Regions from separate parts of the Homo sapiens genome. Here all the other regions are linked to region 1. The links are contacts of gene promoters, found by promoter capture Hi-C in blood cells and fetal thymus (Javierre and others, 2016). All regions are on one chromosome and are shown on one strand. The core of a region is centred on a gene start or on the middle of the fragment in contact, and the rest is flanking DNA. Distances in the headings are between cores, read along the strand shown.

What was found. The method cuts DNA at HindIII sites, captures the fragments that hold promoters and counts their contacts. A CHiCAGO score of 5 or more calls a contact.
Region 2: a contact is called between the fragment with the promoter of RCOR2 here and the fragment with the promoter of ATL3 in region 1, in 4 of 17 cell types (M0 macrophages, fetal thymus, total CD4 T cells and 1 more). The highest score is 10.9, in M0 macrophages.
Region 3: a contact is called between a fragment that was not itself captured here and the fragment with the promoter of ATL3 in region 1, in 1 of 17 cell types (neutrophils). The highest score is 6.2, in neutrophils.
Region 4: a contact is called between the fragment with the promoter of PLAAT4 here and the fragment with the promoter of ATL3 in region 1, in 6 of 17 cell types (total CD4 T cells, non-activated CD4 T cells, naive CD8 T cells and 3 more). The highest score is 8.7, in total CD4 T cells.

Annotation. Positions count from the first base shown.
Region 1 is chr11:63,669,992-63,672,726 of GRCh38, forward strand. It overlaps ATL3 (atlastin GTPase 3), which reads right to left and starts at 1,385. Exons shown (of 13, transcript NM_015459.5): 1 at 1,299-1,385. The coding sequence starts at 1,344. RefSeq lists enhancers at 750-1,251, 1,252-1,751, 1,792-1,901 and silencers at 912-1,171, 1,202-1,261, 1,582-1,701. The HindIII fragment of the contact is 2,416 bases long and covers 771-2,735 here.
Region 2 is chr11:63,915,753-63,918,487 of GRCh38, forward strand. RCOR2 (REST corepressor 2) reads right to left here and starts at 1,412. Exons shown (of 12, transcript NM_173587.4): 1 at 578-1,412. The coding sequence starts at 704. RefSeq lists an enhancer at 489-1,152 and silencers at 1,244-1,363, 1,504-1,563, 2,241-2,290. The HindIII fragment of the contact is 18,401 bases long and covers 1-2,735 here.
Region 3 is chr11:63,887,883-63,890,617 of GRCh38, forward strand. The region is part of intron 1 of MARK2 (microtubule affinity regulating kinase 2); the gene reads left to right. Among named protein-coding and RNA genes, the nearest start is that of RCOR2, 28 kb to the right of the region's middle. RefSeq lists an enhancer at 635-744. The HindIII fragment of the contact is 3,301 bases long and covers 1-2,735 here.
Region 4 is chr11:63,535,419-63,538,153 of GRCh38, forward strand. It overlaps PLAAT4 (phospholipase A and acyltransferase 4), which reads left to right and starts at 1,390. Exons shown (of 4, transcript NM_004585.5): 1 at 1,390-1,459. The coding sequence starts at 1,451. RefSeq lists an enhancer at 1,289-1,338. The HindIII fragment of the contact is 4,349 bases long and covers 1-2,735 here.

The sequences.
Region 1 (2,735 bases), core at 135-2,634:
GCTACCCGGGAGGATGAGGCAGAAGAATTGCTTGAACCCAGGAAGCGGAGGTTGCAATCAGCCGAGATCGCGCCATTGCACTCCAGCCTGGGTGACCAGAGCAAAACTCCGTCTCAAAAAATAATAATAAAACAATGTGCTGGACTACTGCAATACTGAGATCCTTCTCAGCCAAGTGTTTACAGGTGTTAGAGCGGCAACAGGAATTTCTGGAGTACAAGCTAATCTCTGTGGGAATGGAAAAAAAAAAGCACTAATTTGAATTTCAGTACCTATGTTGCAATGCTAAATTCTTGACAGGGATTAGTACTCCGTAGGTTATGCTTCTTAAATCTCCAAAAGTAAGCCAATATGTGAAATCGTACATTTTTGGTCCGTTATTCTAAGACTGACAAAACGTTCCATTGCTTCGTATTTGAATTTGAGAACTGAGACTCATTTAAAAATTCTTCACTGTTCTTTTCCTTTTTGCTCTTCGATTTCGCAAGTGAAACGGTCATTTCAACAGCACACACATTACACTAGAATAAAGCCAAGTAAAATGACAGACTAAATCAGATCCGTGAATACACGGTGACTCCTTATTTGGTTTTTAATACTTTCACTATGTTTCATGTCTTCGGGAAAGCAAAAGAACAACGTACTGTGCCAAAAGCACTAACTTACGAAAAACCAATTTAGACCAATTCTTTACAGCGTTAAGTATGGGTTGAAAACCAACTTTCCTAATACTTGTGGTCAGTGCCTCAAGGTCGTTAGGATAAAAATAAAGCTTCCAAGACACTTCGCAGCCTTCCAGCACTTCCAGAAAGGCCAAATAAACCAGCATTCACCTTCCCGCTCCATCCAGGCCCCGATTCTCCGACCAGAGAGGGCGCTGAGTGCCCGGGCACGGAGGGGCAGCGCCCTGGGGCGCCCGGCTCTGCCCAGGGCGGGGCTCGGCGGGGCCGAAGCTCCGGACGCCGCCCACGGGGACCACCGGCCCTTGGGCCGCCCAGGGGCAGCTGCAGCCCAGGGGAGGAGCTGGAGGAGCCCCCGGCGGCACCAGGGCCCGAGCCCTGACGGCGGCCGCCCCCGGCCGAAAAGTAAGGAAGGTGCCGCCCTCGCTGGACCAGCTGGGCCCGAAGAGGGGCCCCCCCACCACAAATTCGGAAACCGAGTGACCCCGGCGAGGGACGCGCGGTCCCAGCCCCGGGACGAGGAAGGGCGGCGGCGCGGGCGGGGGTTCTTTTCAGAACTACAGCAGGGAAGGCGGCGGGGGTGGCCGCGGGGCGATCCAGGGAAAATCGGCGCCTCACCTGCTCCTCTTGAGGCAGCTGCTGCCACTCGCTGAGGGGACAACATGGAGCCTCCGCCTTCAAAGCAGAAGCAGCAGGGGTGCAGAGGAGAGGGACGGGTGCGGGCGGGAACGAACCGGGCCCTGGAAGCGGGAAACGGGCGGAGCCTGGGCTCTAGAAAAAACTAGCCAGAAGGTGGGGCACGCGGAGCCGCGACGGAGCGAGCGCAGCGCGGTCTGCGTGGCCCAACGGACAGCCCGAGGCGTGGCGAGCGCAGGACGAGGCTAGGCGAGGCGGGGCGGGAAAGCGCACGCGGCAGAATCCCGCCACCGCCTGCCGCGTGTGCGCGAAGCGAGCCGCCGGGTACCTGTTGGCGGGGCGCTGAGTGCTACCGTCCTTTGGGAATTGTAGTCCCGCGCTCACTGGGTCCCGGCCAGCGGTCCTCATACTGCGCACTCATCTGGGGCGGGGCTTGGCGTGGTTCTCCGACGACTGAACTACAACTCCCAGCAGGCTGTGCGGGAAGGGGCGGGCTGGCTCGGGTCCTCCTGCGAGCTGCGGCCGGCGCCTAACGTGCAGACCAGGCCCCAGGCCGAGGCTTTATCCTGGAACCACCAGTGTGAGAGACAGCTTTGGTGTTTAACTAGGCCTGGGACCACAGGTGGGCAGAAGAGAGGCCTCAACCCTGGATGGCATGAACGTCACTGGGTCTTTAATGATTTTGACTTCATAAGGGCAGGTGGCCGTGACTTCATTACCACCTTTATTATCATCTCCCTATATTCCTGTCCCTGGCCATGGCTGATGCGCACCATCACCGCTCTGATAGCTAATGTAAGAAGTCCAGGCCGGGCGCCGTGCCTCACGCCTGTAATCCCAGCACTTTGGGAGGCCGAGGCGGGTGGATCACCTGAGGTCGTGGGCGTTCGAGACCAGCCTGACCAACATGGAGAATCCCCGTCTCTACTAAAAATACGAAATTAGCCAGGCGTAGTGGCGCACGCTTGTAATCCCAGCTAGTCCAGAGGCTGAACAGGAGAATCGCTTGAACCCAGGAGGCGGAGGTTGCAGTGAGCCGAGATCGCACCATTGCACACCAGCGTAGGCAACAGGAGCAAAACTCCATCAAAAAAAAAAAAAAAAAACTTGCACGCACATCCCAGCATTCTCTGCTCCTTTTCCCTGCATTACTTTTCTCCAAAAGACTTCATACCACTTGGCCAGGCGCGGTGGCTCACGCCTGTAATCCCAGCACTTTGGGAGGCTGAGGTGGTTGGATCACCTGAGGTCGGGAGTTCAAGACCAGCCAGGCTAACATGGTGAAACCCCATCTCTTCTAAAAATACAAAAAATTAACCAGGCGTGGTGGCAGGCGCCTGTAATCCCAGCTACTCGGGAGGCTGAGGCAGGAGAGGTTGCATTGAGTGGAGATGGCACCACTGCACTCCAGCCTGGGAG
Region 2 (2,735 bases), core at 162-2,661, 250 kb after region 1:
TCATTGTACCCCAGTTACCTGCAGCCACAGAAGGGACTGGAAGAGGAAAAGACCCTGTCCAGCCATGGCCATTGGGGCTGGAGGGTGGACAAGGGGACAGTTTTAGAGCCCAGGCCAAGCAGGGTGCTTTGTTCCGGGGGAGGGGAGCGGGGTTGGAGGGCAGCCCCTAGACCTGGACCACAGCCCTGCAAGGAACCCAAGGCTCCTTCCCACCACAGGAGCCTCACAGCTCTGTGTGGAGGTGTCTCTCCAGTCCCTGCTCCAGCCAGACCTCAGTCCCCTGCAAGGTGGCAAGGTATGAGGGACCCACTCTATGCAAGGGAGGGATGCCTCGGTCCCTGAGGGGGTGAGGGCAGGGCAGGGGCCGGCAGGACGCCTCCACAGCAGCTAGGGGCCCAGGTTCCAGATTGGCTGTGCCGGCAGCCTGGGTTTGTGGGAGAAGCAACGCAGAGGCTCCAATCCAGGAGAGGCAGGAGCCATCAGTGTAACAGGCTCGTGGTCTGCAACTCTTCCCCCTCCCGCCCCACTCCGCTCCCCCCAGGCCGGCGCGCCTTTAACCCTAGGCCACCGGGCTCACCGTGCGAGTGCTCCTCCTCGCTGCTGTCATCCTCCGAGTGGGGCTGTCCGCCGTTGGGCACCGTCTTGGCCCGGCTACGGGACAGGATCCCAGAGCCCGCGCTCGGCTTCTCCATCACTGAGGGCATTACCCCGCCCAGCTGCCCCGGGGGGCGCAGGAGCCTTCGGAGAGCGACAGTGGTTGCCGCACTCGCTCCGAGTGCCGAGCCCGGCCCGGCCTGGAGAGGTCGCCACTGAGGTTAGGAGAGGCAGGAGGTCAGCGTGGCTAGGGTCCGGCGGGGTGGGAGCCCACCTGGTAGCCCCAGCGCTCTCCACGACCCCCACGAGCCAGGGCGTCAGAAAAGTTTGTGCAGAAGTGGGGGACGCAAGGGATGAGCGCAAGGTCCGGTGCGGCTGGGGCGTGATTACTATGTACGCCCCTCAGGGTTGGGGTTCCCCTGAAGTCGGGGCCCCCTGTCCTCGGGGCGCCCTGGAACCCCACCGCCCACCTGCCCACGCCGTTCAGCGGCTGGGCGCTGGAGCGCAATCTGCGCCCCCCGGGCTCTGCGCCTCTCAGCTGCGCCGGGGATGCCCCAGTCCCCGGGCGGGGACCCGTGTCCTAAGCAGACCCCTGCCCGCGACGGCAGCCGGCCGGGGCACCGGCGGCGGCGGCGGCGGCGACGGCGGCGGGACGGCGCGCACGGCGCGCGGCGCTGGGCAGAGTTGCCGGGAGGCGGGCGGAGCGCAGCCGCGGGTGCCGCCTCGCACCCTCCCCGGCGCGCTCGCTCTCCCCGCCGCGCTCGGGATGCCGCTTGCTCGCCCGCTCTCCGCCGCCGCTCGCTCCTCGCGCACACAATGAAGCTGCTGGCAGGGAAGTAGTGCCGGCTGCGGCCTCAGCACCCCTCCCCCAGCCGATGCCTCCGCCAGCTGAACATCTGGCCCTGGGGTGGGAGGGAGGGCCCGGGGGGCGGGGCCAGGGGGCCGGGGCCAGACCTCCAGGGGGTGGGATCAGGACCCTGGTGGGGCGCGCGTCCCGCTGCGGGGGCTCCCCTCGCGTCCCTGGGCTCCCAGACTTGCCCCTGGGGGAGACCCCACTGCCCCCCAGGAGTAGCCAGGGGTCAGCCCCACCCACGCGCACACCAACACCACACACCAGTGGGCTCGGGTTACTGCCGCCTGCCCCGGGGGCCCTGGGGCCGCCTGCCCGCCCGCCCGGGTGGAGCCCAGCTTTTCCTTCCATTTCCCTTCCTGCCAAGGAACTCCCCGCCCCCCCTTCCGCAGGGGGGACCCCCCTTATGCGCCCTTGGGGGCCAGAACGGATGGGAGGCTGGACAGGCAAGGAATGAATTCCTCCAAGAGCTACCCAGCCAGAGGCTGGCTTCTGGTGGATCTGTGGGTCCCCAAGGGTCGCCCCAATTCCCTTTAACTGCTGCAGTATGCACCCCTAAACAGTGGTAGCAAGGGCTGAGGGATGGGGAGTGGGAGGTGTAGGGGAAGGTCTGGGCTGCAGGGGAGAGAGGAGCTGGGTCTCCTCCCCACTGGGTTCACTGTCACCCCAGCTGGAAGCAGCATCCCCCTCCCCCCGGACAAGCACGGGCAGAGTGACAGACAGGGAAGCGGGTAGAGCGGCACAGACGGAGATGGGGGAGGGGGTGGGCAGAGACTTTCAAAGCCAGACCCAGCCACCCTGCCAGGCACACAAAGAGCCAGCGCACACACCGGCGGCGGCTCCGAGCCTGCGAGCTGCGCCCGTGCCCGTCCCCGCCGCCCGGGGCACGTGCTGCAGCGCACACAAGCTGAAGCCCCCGCCCGCCGCCCCTCCCACCCGGAGCCCCAGTCTCCTGGACACACCTCCACCCAGGCACACCCCGCTGTGCCCAGACTGAGCCGAGCCCGCACTCGCGCCCTCCTCTCCCTTCCCTTCCTGGTCCACTCTGTAATCAGATTCCTAAATTTAGAAGCAGCCTAGGGCCCAGCCAGGGATCCCTGCCCCCACCCGCTGCCTGCGGCCGAGTGGCCGGGGTGTTGCGGTCGGGCCACGACCCGGCTGGGGCCGCTTGTTCCCGGGGACTCCTGCGGACAGCCAGGGAAAGCCAGGCTCGACCCCACCCGGCTGCTGCGCCGTCGAGCCACATGGGGCCACCCAGCCAGCGGCCACGTTGCCCGCCACACCTCGGGCC
Region 3 (2,735 bases), core at 84-2,583, 220 kb after region 1:
GGTGACTGGAAACTTGGAGGTGAGTGAGAACCTAGGGATGAACGTTCAGAAGCAGGGCTGGAAGGAACTTAAAAGGGACATTTGGATTGTTTCTAGCTTTTGGGCAAAATCTAGGATTAAATATGATTTTTTCATTGATAGAATGCTCTATCAGTGATAAAGGCTCTTAATCTAGAAAACATACACCTCATAGGGGGCTTTACAGAGTCCCCAAACTCCCTGAAATTATGCTCAAAATATTTTGTGTCTAAGTGGAATGTGCATGTTTCCAAGGTTAAGCACTGCTTTTTTAGGAAGTAGGAGGTCCGTCCGCCACTGTCAGCTTGCTGGTTTCTGCTTACCCTCCTCCCCACTTCGTTCTTGAGGGGGTGGTTTGCTGGTCTTTGGCAGGGCCGCCACTCTGGGTCAGCACATCTGAGTCACACATGTTCCTCCCCAGCCCTATTGGAGGCTTTGTTAAAGTCATCTGCCCCTACCCAGGTCCCACCTGCCACAGGTGAGCTAGGGTTTTATGACAGCCGTGGCTGCAGTGAGTCTCCTCGACCTCTCGCCAGCTGTTACCCAGCAAAGCACCTTGGGGAGGGTGGGGCTGCCCACTTCCGGGGAGGGGGGGAGGGGGAGGGGAGAAGGAAGTTGATCTAAACCCGCCTCTTTCTCTGTCTCCCTTCCTGCCCTATTCCCCTCCTGCCCCTTCCCTCCCACCTTGCTTCTGGTGTGCTGTCCTGGAATTGCACGCGCTTCCTGACCACCAGGCTCTGGCCCTTGAGAAGCCAGCGGGGCTTTGTCCCTGTTGCTCTCCTTGCCAAACCCAGTCTCTCTGCTAGTGGTGGTTTCGGTTGCGACACCGTCCAGGTTCCCAGGCAGGAACCGCTCGGCCTGGCTGCTTAGCTACTTTTCACTGAGGAGGTGGTGGAAGGTGTCGCCTGCTCTGGCTGAGTAAGGGTGGCTGGCTGAGCCGGCAGCCCCCGCCCTAGGCCTGGCTCTTCCCGGCCTCTGTACTTTGCCCTCGCTGCCTGACAGGTTCTGCTGTGGGCTCTGCTGAATGGAAGTCGCTGGTAGTCCTTTTCCCTTTCTCCAGTCGGGTATGTTGTCCCCCTTTTTACTCTAGGATTGCCTCCTCCTCTTTCTTTCCTCTCATCTCAAACATAGGATCTTTAGAGAGTTGCTAAGGGGCGCCCTGCCTGAGTCCAGCATAGTAATATTCATGGGAAGGGTGTCCAGATGTGGAAGAGGCATTGACTAGGAAAGGAAGAGGGGGCACATACCAGAAGGGTCTCCCCTGAGAACAAGCAGCTTGACAAGTGGGCGAGGAGGGGCTGGTGGGAGGCAGAGGCCTGAGGCCTCAGAGAGGATGCTCCCGTGCTACAGTGAGGGGGAGCCTAGGATCTGGGGCCATTGCCCAGGACTGGTGCCCAAGGGACACTTTTCTCCCCCAACTCTATAGTGCCTGGCTTACTCTGCTTCTGGCCAGGGAATATCACCCCTCCTGGTTTGGCTCCTTCTCAGCCCTCGGGAAGCCAAAGGACACTTGAAGCCAGCCCTGAATGCAGAGCCCCAAAGCATGAGCTTCTCCATGGGACAACTGTTGGTAGGAGCCTCCAGCATTAGGGCAGGGGCCCTGCCTACCTGAGTCAGCGCCAGGCCTCTCGGGGTGGAGGCTGTCTTCCGGGCAAGCCTGACAACACACCTAGGCCGAGTCTGAGATCCCAGGCGGAAGGGGCCTGACAGGCCCAGTGGATGCAAAACTATCTTTTTATTTTCTCCTCCATGTCCTGCCTTCTCTCTTCCTCTCAGTAGCAGACCCCAAAGCTGTTTCAGCCCTACTTCTGAATCAGGCCTGCTTAGTAACTACTTGGTTTGCCTTTTGGTTCCAAATAACTGCCTTGCAGGGTGACCCCTTATTCTTTCTAAAGGCTACTTGAGAGCCATAGGGTCTACTCTTGACAGACCTCCTCCATCCTTTAGGGCCTGTCTAGAGTATGATATAGGCCAGAGCTTTGGGAGTGCCTGGTGTGCCACGTCTTACTATAAGCAGGGAGGATGGTGGTAGAGGGGAGAGCGTGGCTTTTGCCAGGTCCTATTGAGTTGGCCCAGCAGGGCAGCTAATCCTCAGCCTGCCATCCTGTTGGTGAGACCCAGGGCCAAGCTGAATGGTGCAGCCAGAACCAAAAAAGAGAAACTCTCTCTCCATATTAGCCACTGCATACTCTTACCTCTTTATCCTTCAGGGAAGAAGCTAGGTGAGGAAGTTGCCTCACTTGGGGCCTTGGCCCAAGAAGCATTTCTGTTGGAGACTCTCTCCTCTCTTTTCCCTTTTTCTTTTCTCTGCTTCCTTCCAGTGGCTTGCCTCCTTACCCTGGCTCACATCCCTGCTGTGGGAAACATCTTACAGCATAGAAGAAGGGGTGCAGGGGTAAGTAAGGGAAGGATTGAGCACTTGGAGTCCTCTGAGTTGGATGGTTCAGTCCCGAAAAGGGGGTTGGTGACTTTGGAGCAGGGGATCAAAGAGCAAGCACCAGTGCTTGTTGCTTCTCTGGCTCCTGAACAAGCAGAACCTCCTCTCTTTCCCTGTCCTGGATACCCAGCGTGGGACCAGCCCTTCACAGCCACCCTGTCTTGAGTTCCTGACTCTCCTCCTTCCCTCTTTTGAAGGCTAGAGGTGCTGGTGTCGGCTAGCAACAGGTTGAGGGAGTGTGGCATTTCACCAGGTCTGGAGGAGAGCGGGCACTCAACCT
Region 4 (2,735 bases), core at 140-2,639, 130 kb before region 1:
AGTGGAGCAATCTCAGCTGACTGCAGCCTGACTTCTGGGTTCAGGCGATCCTCCCATCTCCGCCTCCCAAGTAGCTGAGAGTACAGGCACATGCCACCATGCCCGGCTAATTTTTTTTTCTGTATTTTTAGCAGAGACGGGGTCTCGCCATGTTGGCCAGGCTGGTCTTGAACTCGTGGGCTCAAGTGATCCACCTGTCTAGGCCTCTGGTTGGGTGTGAAAATATGGCCCAGTTCTGGCCAATGGAGAAGGGAACAGGTCATCTGGGGAACTGTGGGAAAGACTTAACTCCCTGAAAAAAAGACAAATGAGAATTATCTTTCCCTCCATCTTTTGGGCATAGCCAGGTAAAAATGGGCCACTCAAGGCTGCTACAGCCATGGGAGTCCCTGCAGGGCAACAGTGCAGACCCAGGACCAGTGCAATGGAGACAGCCTGCTGAGTCCTTGGTGACCTTGGTGAGCCACTAAACCCAACCTGAGTCACCCTCTTCCTGCCTTTCTGTTACCGAGACAATGGGTGTCCAGGCTGTTGAAGCCCTTTTGAGTTTAGTTCTGCTTCTTGCACCCAAATGCATTTTAATGGGGCCATGAGCTCCCAGGCTCCACATGGTCTAAGGTACCCCTCACCTCCAGGGCATCCCCATGGAATGAAACACCCCCTCTGGCCTTCTCCCAAGACTTCTGGCCCAATATTTTCTGGGTGTCTTTACAAGACAATGTCCTATGGGGTGCACTGGGGATTGACATCTCCCTGCCTCCGAATGCCTCCCCTTCCTGGAGTAGGAAGAGCTGCCCAGGGTTCTTTTTAGAAGAGACCTTTATTTTGGCCAGGTGCGGTGGCTCACACCTGTAATCCCAGCATTTTGGGAGACCGACGGGGAGGCAGATCACAAGGTCAAGAGATCGAGACCATCCTGGCCAACATGGTGAAACCCCGTCTCTACTAAATATGGAAAAATGAGCCAGGCATGGCAGCAGGTGCCTGTAATCCCAGCTACCTGGGAGGCTGAGGCAGGAGAATCACTTGAACCCGGGAGGCAGAGGTTGCAATGAGCCGAGATCGCACCATTGCACTCCAGTCTGGGTGACAAGAGCGAAACTCTGTCTCAAAAAAACAAACAAACAAACAAACAAACAAACAAAAAAGAAAAAAAAAGAAAAGACCTTTATTTCTCAAGCAAGGGCAGAAATTCAGGGCTCCCCTTCGACTCTGGCTGCTCCCAAGGTGGCTTTAAAGCACCAATGAGTCCATGGCTTGTGTAAGAAATGATTAGTCCTTCCATCTAGAGAAATAGCTCCTTTTTAAACAGTTGTCTCTTTTAAACAGTGTTTAGTATTTAAGTGAGGTTGAAACAGTGTCAAAAGGAAAGTGAAAGTGAAATTCTCTCCTTCAGCATAAAAGCTGATCCACAAACAAGAGGAGCACCAGACCTCCTCTTGGCTTCGAGATGGCTTCGGTAAGTTTCCCAGGGCTTTGCATTACTGACTCTACAGCAGTTGGGCAGCTCCCCCTAGGAAAGGCCTCAGTCCAGGCTCCTGGCCTTGGGCACACAGCTCCAGAGCTCGTCTTTAGAAGGCTGTCATGGAAAACTGTATTTGTCTTTTAAAAGTGCATCTGCCCAGCTGGACAGGGAGTCCTCTGGGCAGAGTCCACCTCCTCTGCGTAACTGGCACAGTGCGGGGAGCCCGGGACTCCCATGTAGTAGAGAGCTGTGGGGTGCCGGGTGTCAAATCTACCTCAGCCTGAGGAGAAGCCAGAGTGTGGGCAGGTGGGGGACTCTGGGTTGTGGGAAGCAAGCAAATCCCAACATCGTCTGCTTCTGCTGTGACTGGGGCTCAGTCCCTTCTCGGCCCCAAACGATGCTTTCTCTCTCCTCGTTCCTCTGTGGCATCATCCAGCCTTCTAAGGTGCATTCTAATCTCAGCAGCTTTCTGAAAACTGAAATTTCTCCTCCTATCAGCCCAGATGTACCGATTGGCAGAAGCTCTAGGGAGAGCAGGCTGAGCTCGGTGGTGTGTGACTAAAAAGGAACAGCGGGGCTCAGGCTATTACTAGAAACAAAACCATTCCGGGAAGGAGTCCTGCAAATTCTGGAGGGCAGCCCACTCCAACAGCACCACCTGATCCTGGGGAAGGGCTTTACTGCTGCCAAAACAAATCAGGGCTTTTAACAGGGAGCCCAGGCCAAAGCTCATATCTCACTGGCCACCAGCTGAGGTTGCCAGTACCTTGACTGTGGTTTTAGACATTCAGCATTGCAGTTAAAAGCCCCTCTCTCTCCCCACATGGAAACCATCTCCTGTGGTGCCCTGACATACAGAGGAGGAGCTGGGAGGGAGTCCTGGCCCTGCTCCTTTCTCCTCCCTCTTCCTTGTCTATTTCCTTGCCCCATTCTACGCCAGGCCCTTCACTGGGTCCTGGAGGTGCAGGGAGGGAGGAGCACACAGGATCCTGCCTGCCTGGAGCTCACAGCCCAGAGGGGCACAGGGAGGCACAGGGAATTGCAGCTCAACTTGACCCCTGCAGAGAGCAGCAGAGGCCCCCGGGGACCCAGGTCCTAGGAGTGGGGTGGCGGGTCAGCTGAGCCAGGCTGGGGCCATCAGGGCAGCTTCTCAGGTGAGGGGGTTTGAGGGAGGGGAAGAGGAAGAGTGGCTGCAGGGAAGTGATGGAGGCAGGGAGAACCAGATGTGCAGAGCAGCAGAGACCAGAGCCAGGGCAGTAGTGAGGGGCTG